2 separate regions of the Homo sapiens genome follow, and region 1 is linked to region 2. Evidence: promoter capture Hi-C in human tissues and cell types (Jung and others, 2019). All regions are on one chromosome and are shown on one strand. The core of a region is centred on a gene start or on the middle of the fragment in contact, and the rest is flanking DNA. Distances in the headings are between cores, read along the strand shown. Region 1 holds the start of ARHGAP33 (Rho GTPase activating protein 33). Region 2 holds the start of TYROBP (transmembrane immune signaling adaptor TYROBP).

The links. The method cuts DNA at HindIII sites, captures the fragments that hold promoters and counts their contacts. A contact is called where the count stands out against the background at its distance.
Region 1: a contact is called between the fragment with the promoter of ARHGAP33 here and the fragment with the promoter of TYROBP in region 2, in 1 of the 25 tissues and cell types used here (adrenal gland).

Annotation. Positions count from the first base shown.
Region 1 is chr19:35,772,472-35,777,722 of GRCh38, forward strand. It overlaps ARHGAP33 (Rho GTPase activating protein 33), which reads left to right and starts at 3,093. Exons shown (of 21, transcript NM_001366178.1): 1 at 3,093-3,193; 2 at 5,174-5,251. The coding sequence starts at 3,188. RefSeq lists enhancers at 2,585-2,644, 4,666-5,251 and a silencer at 2,875-3,354. The HindIII fragment of the contact is 39,613 bases long and covers 1-5,251 here.
Region 2 is chr19:35,906,387-35,912,000 of GRCh38, forward strand. TYROBP (transmembrane immune signaling adaptor TYROBP) reads right to left here and starts at 1,909. Exons shown (of 5, transcript NM_003332.4): 1 at 1,782-1,909; 2 at 1,344-1,376; 3 at 1,060-1,194; 4 at 832-878. The coding sequence starts at 1,842. RefSeq lists a silencer at 921-1,074 and enhancers at 2,886-3,015, 3,166-3,215, 3,316-3,425. The HindIII fragment of the contact is 6,909 bases long and covers 1-5,614 here.

The sequences.
Region 1 (5,251 bases), core at 1,843-4,342, 130 kb before region 2:
AGCTGGGCCTGGTGGCGGGTGCCTGTAGTCCCAGGTGCTCAGGAGGCTGAGGCAGGAGAATTGCTTGAACATGGGAGGCGGAGGCTGCAGTGAGTTGAGATGGTGCCACTGCACTTCAGCCTGGGCAACAGAGTGAGACTCCATCTCAAAAACAAACAAACTAACAAAAAAATGTAATTGACAAGAAAAATAGCTGTTTAGATATAAGGAGAAATAAAAGATACTATAGTAGCAGAACCTGATCTAGCTGGGTCACGGGTGGGGTCTAGAAGCATTCCTGAGGAAGTTACACTTAAGCTGAGACAGGTAGAAATTATCTAGTTAACAAAGGGCTGTCCTAATTACTCTAGTTGGATAACCGCTCCCAAAACTTAGTGGCATAAAACAATTATTTTATTATGCTCATGGATTCTGAGAGTCAGAGGTTTGGACAGGGCTCATATGGGGACAATTTTTGTCTCCTCCATGATGTCTGGGGATTCACCTGGAAAGACTCAAAGGTGACTTGATAGACTTGATGGCTGTGGAGTAGAATCCTCCAGAACTTCTTCCGTGGTCTTCTCCCAGTCTGACTGGGACTATTGACTAATGCCTATACATAGCTCCATTGGCCTGGGCTTCCTCAAAGCATGTCTGCTTCAGCATAGTCACACTTCGCATATGATGCACCATGGTTCTACAGCTCATTCCAGTGGACGAGAACATTGGTCAAGAAGCTGCATTGCCTTTCATCACATAGCCTTAGAAATCACCGTGTCACTTCCACTGTTTTCTATTGGTTGAAGCTATCCTAGTCCCACCCAGATTCATAGAAAGCAATCATAGAGTCCGCGTCTTGATAAGAAGAGTGTCAGAGAATTTGCAGCTGTTTTAAAATCACTGCAGGACCCCATTCTCCATGATGTGATTATTACACATTGCATGCCTGTATCAAAACATCTCATGTGCCCCCTCAATATATATACCTAAATATACCTGTTATGTACCCAGAAAAATTAAAAAATAAAAAAAAAAATCACTGCAGGGGTTGATGGGGAAACACTAGACAGAAGGAATATCGTGTGGGAAATCCCTGTGATGAGAGTGAGGTCAGCAAATTTAGTACATAAGTAACTGCACATTCACCTCTCCCTCAGCACTCCCTTTCACCAGCCCTTGCTTAATTATTCTCCATAGAATGAATCACCTTCTAATATTTTTTTTTTTTTTCAGACAGAGTCTTGCTCTGTCTCCCAGGCTGGAGTGCAGTGGCAAAATCTCGGCTGACTGCAACCTCCGCCTCCTGGGTTCAAGCAATTCTCCTGTCTCAGGCTCCTGAGTAGCTGGGATTACAGGCACACGCCACCACACCTGGCTAATTTTAATATTTGTATTTTTAGTAGAGACGGGGTTTCAGCATATTGGCCAGGCTGGTCTCGAACTCCTGACCTTGTGATCCTCCCGCCTCGGCCTCCCAAAGTGCTGGGGTTACAGGCGTGAGCCACTGTCCCCAGCTTTTTTTTTTTTTTTTTTTTTTTTTTTTTGAGACAGAGTCTCACTTCAACACCTAAGCTGGAGTGCAGTGGCGCGATCTCGGCTCACAGCAAACTCTGCCACCTGGGTTCAACCCATTGTCTTGCCTCAGCCTCCCAGGTAGCTGGGATTACAGGCACGCCCGCCGCCACACCTGGCTAATTTTTGTATTTTTAGTAGAGACGGGGTTTCTCCATGCTGGCCATGCTGGTGTCGAACTCCTGACCTCAAGTGATCTGCCCGCCTCGGCCTCCCAAAGTGTTGGGATTACAGGCGTGAGCCACCACGCCTGGCCTAATATTCTATATTTTGTTTAATGTTAATTTTGTTCATTGTCTTCTCCCAGTAGCTTTTGAGCTCCAATGTGGGCAGGGTATATTTTCTCCTGGTTTGGTTGTTGATGTATGTACAAATTGATTAGAGTTTGAGTGAATGAATGAATGAATGAATGAATGAACAGACCAAGACCCTCTGAGATGAGAATTTGTTGAGGGCATGACTAAGGAGAGACCCTCCTGTGAAGGGCGTTATTACAGTGTTATCTGGGCATGCTCAGTATTAGCAGGCTCCATTGGGAATGGCTTTATGGGGGGCATAAGCATGATCTGGCATTTCCCCCTAAGCATTTTCCTAGAAAAAAAAAATCAAGGCTGGAGATTGGCCCGTAATAAGCAGTAGAAGGGGAAACAAGAAAATGTCCAGTGGGCAGGGGAGGCCAAATCGCAGAAAGCCTCGGGTTACGTCCTAGGCAAGGTATATGAGGCAACGAGAAACGTCCATGGGCGGAGCGTCCTCGGCATTATGTGAGCGGGGTCGGGATCAGGACTGAAAAGGTGAGACTTGGGACTGGGACTTTGAAAAGCTGCTTAAGGAACTGGGCACTGCTCTGAGGCCGTGGGAGAATCCAATTAAGACTATCAGGGGCTGGCTGGCGTGGTGGCTCACGCCTGTCATCCCAGCGCTTTGAAAGGAGGCTGAGGAGGGAGTATCTCTTGAGCCCCAGAGATCAAGACCATCCTGGGTAACATAGTGAGACCCCCATGTCTAAAAAAAATTAGCCAGGCGTGGTAGCGCACGCCTGTAGTCCCAGCTACATGGGAGGTATCGCTTGAGCCCAGGAGGTTGAGGCTGCAGTAAGCCACGATTGCAGGACTGCGCTCCAGCCTGGGCGACAGAGTGAGACCCTGTCTCTTAAAGAAATAAAAATAAAAAAGTCAGAAGAATGGACACTGGGAGTGGACGAAAGGTAGGGTCCATTGCTTGGTGTTGGAAGTGTCGGAAGCAAAGCATAAAGAACCTGGGGGCTTGTCTCAGGAGGGCGATGACAGCCAATGAAAAGCAGTCATGGGCGTGGCGCTGTCAAACTTCGAGGGGCGGGACCGAGGACACAGAGCCGGGGCGGAGCCCAAGGTGAAACCAATGAGAAGCCTCCGGGTGGGCGGGGCATCGGCCTAAGGCCAAGGGCGGAGCCAATGAGAAGCAGCGCCGCGTTCCCGCTGCCCCCCGCCCCCGTGGGGCGCGCGCCGGAGCCACGGGCAGCCGTTAGGGGCGGGGTCTGCAGCCGCCCGCGCGCGGCTCGCGCCCTCCCCTTTGTGTCGCCATGGCGGCGGCAGCGGCGACGAGAACGGCGAGCGAGGGGTCGAGCGCGGCCGGGGCCTGAGGAGGCTACGCGACCATGGTGGTAAGGGTCCCACGCGGCCGTCAGCCTGTCCGTCCGGATGTCAGTCTGTCCGTGCGCAGCCCCGCCCCGCGCGCCCCGCCCCCGGCCCCGCCCGATCCCGCGGCCTGTGCTTCAGCCGTGGTCCCTCCCGTCCTGCGGCCCCATCCCGGGTCCCAGCCCGTACCTCGACCCCGCCCCCTAAGCGCGCATCCCCGTCTTCCACGCCCTGGATGGGGTGACAGGGACCTAGGGCCTGGGCTGGGAGGAGGCGGGGCTAGTCCAGGAAGGGACCCGCGCCACCCAAGTGGCCCCTGCAGGGGCCTCCTGAGGCTCCTGGGTCCTTCCCCAGCTCCCATCCCAGCACCTTCCTCGGCATCCTTCTGCCAGCCCTCAGCCCTCCCCGGCGGAGCCCCCTCCTCCTCCCCACAGCCCCTTTCTCATTCCCGAGCCCCACCCCCCACCCGCTCCATCCCCAGCCTGACCCTTTTCTTCTCCTTCTCCCTCATTTTCACCCTATCCCAGTTCCTCTCAATCCCCCCCGCCCCGCATCAGTCTGAGCCTTTGCCTCGTCTCTCCAGCCACTCCTTCCTTACTCCACCCCAACAGGCCAGCACTGTACCTCCCTTGATCCTCGGGTCTGCTCCATCTCCTTGTCCTCATCCCCCTCCCCCACCATTTCCCTCTCCCACCATGCTGCTCCCGCTCATTCATCCATTCATTCCCTCACTTAGCAGACATTCACTGAGACCGCCTCTGTGCAGGCCCCACGCTCCAGGCACAGAGAGAGTCAGCTCCCATCCTGCCTTGGGGAACCTTATGGGCTGGAGGGGGACAGACCCTGAGGGTGAGACCCTGAGGGTGACTGGGGGTTGCAGGGACATGGAGCAGGGAGACGCTACAGCCCAGTGAATCTGTCTGGCAGCTGGTTAATTTATTCATCAGATTTTACCCAGTCCCTGCTGCGCGCGACTGGGCTGGCACTGGGGACCCAGAAAAGAATCAGGAACAATCATGTCTGAACACCAACTCAATGCCCAGCTCTATGCTGGGGAGCTCAGTCTGGGGCCCTCCTTCTGGGAGGCCGGTCATAGTCCAATGAGAGAGATGAACTTGTCACCACCAGTGCCATCTCAGAGTGATCAGAGCTGTGAAGGGAGAAGCTCTGGTCAAGGCATGGAACCTGGGATGGGGGAACCTCAGGGGATGGAGAGAGTCCAGAGGAGATGCCAGGTGCAGCCTGAAGGGTCAGGGAGAACTTCCTGGAGGAGGGCACATGTGAGTTGGGACCTGAGGGGTGGGAGTGAGGATGAATGTACCCAGGGAAAGGTGGGGCGAGTGTTCCAGGCTGAGGGAACAGCCTTTGCAAAGGCCTAGAAGGAAATGAGAAGAGGGTGCTTTTTTTGGACTCTTAGAAGTTCAAGAGCTCTGAGAGTGGGGGCAATGGGAAGAGATGGGACTGGAGAGGTAAACAGAAATCAGCTCAGGGAAGTCTCGATTATCAGACCAGAGAATTCAGACTTCGTCTTGAAGACAACAGGGAGTCATTGAAGGCCCAGGATCTATGGAGAAATAGAGCCAGATTTGTGTTTTCTGAAAACGATCCAGGCTATTGCGGAAAAGCTGGCAGGAGGGGAGAGGCTGGAAGCAGGAAGGCTGATGAGATGGGAGTTGTGATTGTCTAGACAGTGGTAGGAGATCACTGTACTCTGCAGGGGCTACGGAAGGGTTTTCAGCAGGGAGAGATGGGACCAGCATGCTCTCCATCCTGTTGCCCCGCCTCACGTCTGGCCCCTGCTTCTCCAGTCCCCCACCCCAGACCACACACGAAGAAGCAGTCCTGTCCTCAGCCCAGCCCTCACCTCCCCCGACCTGCCATCCTGCTTCATGCTCAGGGCGGTGTGTGGAGCGCCCGGGGCTCTGGACCCGCGCTGCCAGATAACAATGCTCTCGTTGTCTCTTTGCTCCCATCTCTGGGGGCCTCTGATTCTTTCTGCTCTACAGGCACGCAGCACTGACAGCCTGGATGGCCCAGGGGAGGGCTCGGTGCAGCCTCTACCCACTGCTGGGGGGCCCAGTGTG
Region 2 (5,614 bases), core at 659-3,158:
CCAAAAAAAAATTTTTTTTAATTATAAAGAACATTTACACTGCTCTCAGATTATATGCACAATTTTGTATTTTTTGTGTAGATTTTTCTGGGAGTCTAGATTTTCTTAGTTTCTCAAAGGGATGAAGGGTCCTCAAACCCAAAAAAGAGATTCTAGGACTCCTCTCTTTAGAGTTACCAAGGTAGGGCTGAATGACATTCTCTGCCCTACTGAGAGCGTCTCCCAGAAATCAGTCGTCCTAGGGCTGGGTTTCTTCCAGAAAATTCCTGGCCTGACTTCTGGCAAGGCCTGTGTTTACACTTACAAAGGCAAAGCCACCCTTTTTTTTTTCTTTTTAACTCTTCACGCTTTTTTTTTTTTGACAGAGTTTTCCTCTTGTTGCCCAGGCTGGAGTGCAATTGCGTGATCTTGGCTCACTGCAACCTCCGCCTCCTGGGTCAAAGGATTCTCCTGCCTCAGCCTCCCAAGTAGCTGGGATTACAGGCATGCGTTACCACGCCCAGCTAATTTTGTATTTTTAGTAGAGACAGGGTTTCACCATGTTGGTCTCGAACTCCTGACCTCAAGTGATCCACCCGCCTCTGTCTCCCAAAGTGCTGGGATTACAGGTTTGAGTCACCGTGCCCAGCCCCTCTTCACACATTTTAAGCTGACCATAAGCTTGTGGTTGATCATTCGGCCCAGTTTTGGACAGATGTCCCATGTGCCTTCAAGGTTTGGGGGTGCTTTAGGCAGAGTGGCTTTGAGGTCCCTCTGATGGCATGAAGGAGTATCTGGGGCAGATATCCCTGGCAGGAGTGAAATGTGAGGAGGACAGTCTGGTTTTCTCACCTGATAAGGCGACTCGGTCTCAGTGATACGCTGTTTCCGGGTCGCTGCTGGAGGTGAGGGGTGTTGTGGGGTGCAGAGACAGGCAGAGTGGTGAGTTGAGGGTGTTTTGTCATTCCAAATCAGCACCTCCATTACCATCCCTTTGGATGTTTGAGATCTGGGAGTTTACCCAGCCCCCCACCCCCATCTAGGCAAGTCCTCAGGATGTCCCCTGCTAGCCCCACTCACCCTCCGCAGCCCCTCGCCCCCGAGGGACCAGCCGGCCCAGGAAGTACACGGCCAGGGCAATGAGCACTGTCAGCACCAGGTCTCCCATCACGATCCCTGCCAGCACGCCCGGGCTCACCGTAGAGCAACTGCAATCTGCAGCACAGGGGTCAGGGGAGGTCAGTGTGTGCTGGGAACTGTGGGGAGGGGGGTCAGCGGCAGGGAGGTTTGGAAAGGGTGTGGGAGAGACGGAGACAGGGAGGTCTCTGGGAGGTAGAGAGAGGGACTGCTGGGTCTAGGCCTACCGCTCTGGGCCTGGGCCTGGACAGGACGGAGACCTGAGGAGGAAAAAGAAGGTAAACTGAGGCACAGAGTTATGACGGGGGTGGGGGAGGCAAGTTTAGAAGCCAGGGAAGGTGGATCCTGACAGCCAAGAGGTTAGCAAGGGGGAGAGCGTGTCTGGCGGGACTCAGGGGGCTGGCGTCTGGGCCACCGGACTATGTGCGTTACTTCTGCACAACTTGTCCTGTGGCAACACACTTAGATGTCTCTTCTCCCCTGCTTGTAGCGGACGACAAAACTTGGGGGCTTGGGCTCTGGGAGAAACCCACAGGCTTTGGGAGGTTGGGGACCTGCTCCCATCCCAACACCCACTTTTGGTTCTCTCGTTCCACCCCACTCCCTGCCCTGCCCCAAGCTGAGCCCAGGGACCCGGGAGGCAGCCACGGAAGCCCCTAACTCACCACTTACAGCCAGCAGGAGAGGCAGGAGCAGGAGCCTGCTGCAGGGTTCAAGTCCCCCCATGAAGCCGGATGCTGCTGGACACCACAGTGTAAGGGCCGGTGGGATGTGGCGCAGCGTCCAGGCAAGTGAAGGAGGAAGTCTGAGGCGGGTGGTGGCAGAAGGGAGGAGGAGACAGGGGAGGAGAGACAGAAACAAAACCCAAGAAAGAATCAGGCCCAGACACCCAGGGGCCATGCCACAGGCCCCCAGCAACTAGACGTGAAGGGCAAAGGGTACGTGAAGCACAAACTTCACCTCCGTCCCCAGTCAGGGGTCAGACATCGTTTTAACAGGAGGGTCAGTGTCATGACCTTCCTCTGGCTGATTGAAACCAGCTCTGCCTCTTCCTGGCTGGTCAACCTTGAGTGCAATGGCACGGTCTCGGCTCACTGCAACCTCTGCCTCCCGGGTTCAAGTGATTCTCCTGCCTCAGCCTCCCAAGTAGCTGGGATTATAGGCGCCTGCCACCATGCCCGGCTAATTTTTTGTATTTTTTTTTCTTTTTTTTTTAGTAGAGACAGGGTTTCACCATGTTGGCCAGCTGGTCTCAAACTCCTGACCTCAGGTGATCCACCCACCTTGGCCTCCCGAAGTGCTAGGATTGCAAGTGTGAGCCACCGCACCCAGCTCCAACCTCAGTTTCTTCATCTGTAAAATTGGGAGTAAAATGGGACCTACTTTTTAGAGTTGTGGGGATTAAATGAATTAAAGTTCCTAGACCAGGGTCTGACCCTTGTCAGCTTTTTAAAAGCATCAGCTATGATGATGATTATTTAATCATCAGAAACTTGTGCTGTTTAAAGGATATTAAAAGAGCCAGCAGCATGTGGGCACTAATGACATGCAGGCACTCTGTCCCAAGCGTTAAATCATTCAGTCCCCGCAATGCCCTTCTAGGGCACATGCTCTTATCATCCCCATTGTTCAGAGAGGTAGAGACGCTTGCCTAAGGCTGCACAGCAAATCAAGGTGGAAATGGAACCCAAGACCCAAAATCAGGTTTTTGACTAGGGAAGAGTCAGGGGGAAAAACAAAGATGAAAGATGGGGAAGGAGAAAACAGCGGCAAAGCTGAGAAAGGTGAGAGTAAGGCAGTGGCACAGACACAGAGGCACGGCTGGCGGCTTGGGGAGAGGCAGGTGGCTGGCTCTCCTGCTGAATGAGGAAGTGGCTGGGAGCAAGGCCCAAGGGAGGCCACCCCAAGGAGACGGGGACTTCTAGCCCCCAGCTGGAGCCTGGGGCTGGGGAAGGAGGAACCTGAGGTTAGGGTGCTGGAGGATGAGACAGCTGCAGGAAGCCCCCCTCCCCCATCCACACGTCACACCCACCGCTCCTTGGGCCTGGGCTTAGGAGAAAAAAGGGGAAACTGGATTCTGGTCACAGGGCAGATGCCCAGTGGCCTGTGGGGGAAGGGAGGAGAGGAGATTTGGAGCCTGGAGGAGGGTCAGGTCCCAGCTCAGCCCACGGTCACCACTGTTCAGGCCTGGCTGAGTCCCCTCCCTTAAAAACCCAAGCCTCTCCCATTGTGTCTAGAGCGAGCATGGAGGGAACAGACCCTGTAGGTCCTCCCGGGCACACCAGGCCACCCAATGTGTTGGAGCAGAGTGGGCGAGGGGGCAGTCAGAGACCAGAGCAGGGCTCTGAGCCAGGAGGGCCCTGACCTGACTCAGGGGTTCACAGGTTCCCTCCGGCCGCAGGTGGGGAGCAGACTGTGGAGGCAGGGACTGGAGCAGGGAGGCCAGGCTGCTGGGATATTTGTGAGGATATTGTGAGGTCTATTAGAATAATGCCTGGTTGAGTTCAAGACCAGCCCGGCCAGCATGGTGAAACCCCATCTCTACTAAAAATTAGGCTGGGCACGGTGGCTTATGCCTGTAATCCCAGCACTTTGGGAGGCTGAGGCGGGCGGATCACGAGGTCAGGAGATCGAGACCATCCTGGCCAACATGGTGAAACCCGGTCTCTACTAAAAATACAAAAAATTACCTGGGCATGGTGGTGGGCACCTGTAGTCCCAGCTACTCAGAAGGCTGAGGCAAGACAATACCTTGAACCTGGAAGGTGGAGGTTACAGTGAGCTGAGATCGCGCCACTGCACTCCAGCCTGGGCGACACAGCAAGACTCTGTCTCAAAATAATGATAATAATAATAAAGGGCCAAGCGCGGTGGATCACGCCTGTAATCCAACACTTTGGAAGACCGAGGTGGGCGGATCCCCTGAGGTCGGCAGTTCGAGACCAGCCTGACCAATATGGAGAAACTCGGTCTTTACTAAAAAATACAAAATTAGCCTGGCGTGGTGGCGCGTGCCTGTAATTCCAGCTACTCAGGAGCCTGAGGCAGGAGAATCGCTTGAACCCAGGAGGCAGAGGTTGCAGTGAGCAGAGATTGCGCCATTGCACTCCAGCCTGGGCAACAAAAGCGAAACTCAGTCTCAAAATAATAATAATAATAATAATAATAATAATAATAATAATAATAATAATAAACTTTCACTCCTGCTCTAAAACTTACCTTGGTTTCTCACTCTGCCTTATGTCCCTTGGTCAAATTCTTTTTTGAGGAGGCAAGGATTGAGGTTGCTGCAGACCCCTATGGATTCACTGCTGCGAACATACTTCGGTACCGTGTGACTTGGATATGTTCCATGCTAAAAATTAGTATGTCCAGTCTCGAGTTCTCAGCTTAGCTTGATAAAAATCCTCCCTCAGCCAGGTGCAGTGGCTCACACCTGTAATCCCAGGCGTGATTTTGGATTTTGGGACTTTAGGAGGCCAAGGAGGGTGGATCACCTGAGGTCAGGAGTTTGAGACCAGCCTGGCCAACATGGTGAAACCCTGTCTCTACTAAAAATACAAAAACTAGCCAGACATGGTGGCAGGCGCCTGTAATACCAGCTACTTGGGAGGCTGAGGCAGGAGAATCGCTTGAACCTGGGAGGCAGAGGTTGCAGTGAGCCAAGATCATGCCATTGCACTCCAGCCTGGATGACAAGAGTGAGACTTTGACTCAGAAAAAAAAAAAAAATCCTCCCTCAGTCCTTCAGCATCAGCCTCCTAGTCTCATCCTCCCCACTTCAGCCAGGCCTGGGCTGTCCCCAGAAGATATTCCCCAAGCACCATCCAGTCATACGGATGTGGCCATAGGGGCTGGAATCAGGGTCCTAGAGCGCCACCTTTAGTTGCTGAGATGTGGGAAAGTCCAAGGGGTCCCCAAAGAATGGACTCGGGTGGTAGCAGACATCTGTGGGCTATGTGGGCTCTTTACTAACCAGAAGTGGAATGTTTCAACATTTTAGCAACCAATACAACTGTGCTGATGCAGACCACAGGTGGCAGGTCTGGGCTGGCCTCTGGGCTAGAGGACGGATAAAACACTCTCTTTGGCCAGGCATAGTGGCTCACACCTGTAATCCCACCACTTTGGGAGACTGAGGCGGGTGGATCACTTGAGGTCAGGAGTTTGAGACCATCCTGGCCAACATGGTGAAACCCCGTCCCTGCTAAAAAATACAAAAATTAGCCAGGCGTGGTGGTACACATCTGTAATCCCAGCTACTCAGGAGGCTAAGGCAGGAGAATCGCTTGAACCTGGGAGGCAGAGGTTGCAGTGAGCCGAGATCGCACCACTGCACTCAAGCCTGGGCAACAGAGCAAGACTCCGTCTCAAAATAAACAAAACAAAACAAAACAAAAAAACCCTCCCTCTTTGGATGAAGGAAGAAGCTGAGATTCAGGGCACCCAGCAACAAGGCGCTGCCCCAAGACACTGCCAGACTCCTGGAAGCTGAGCT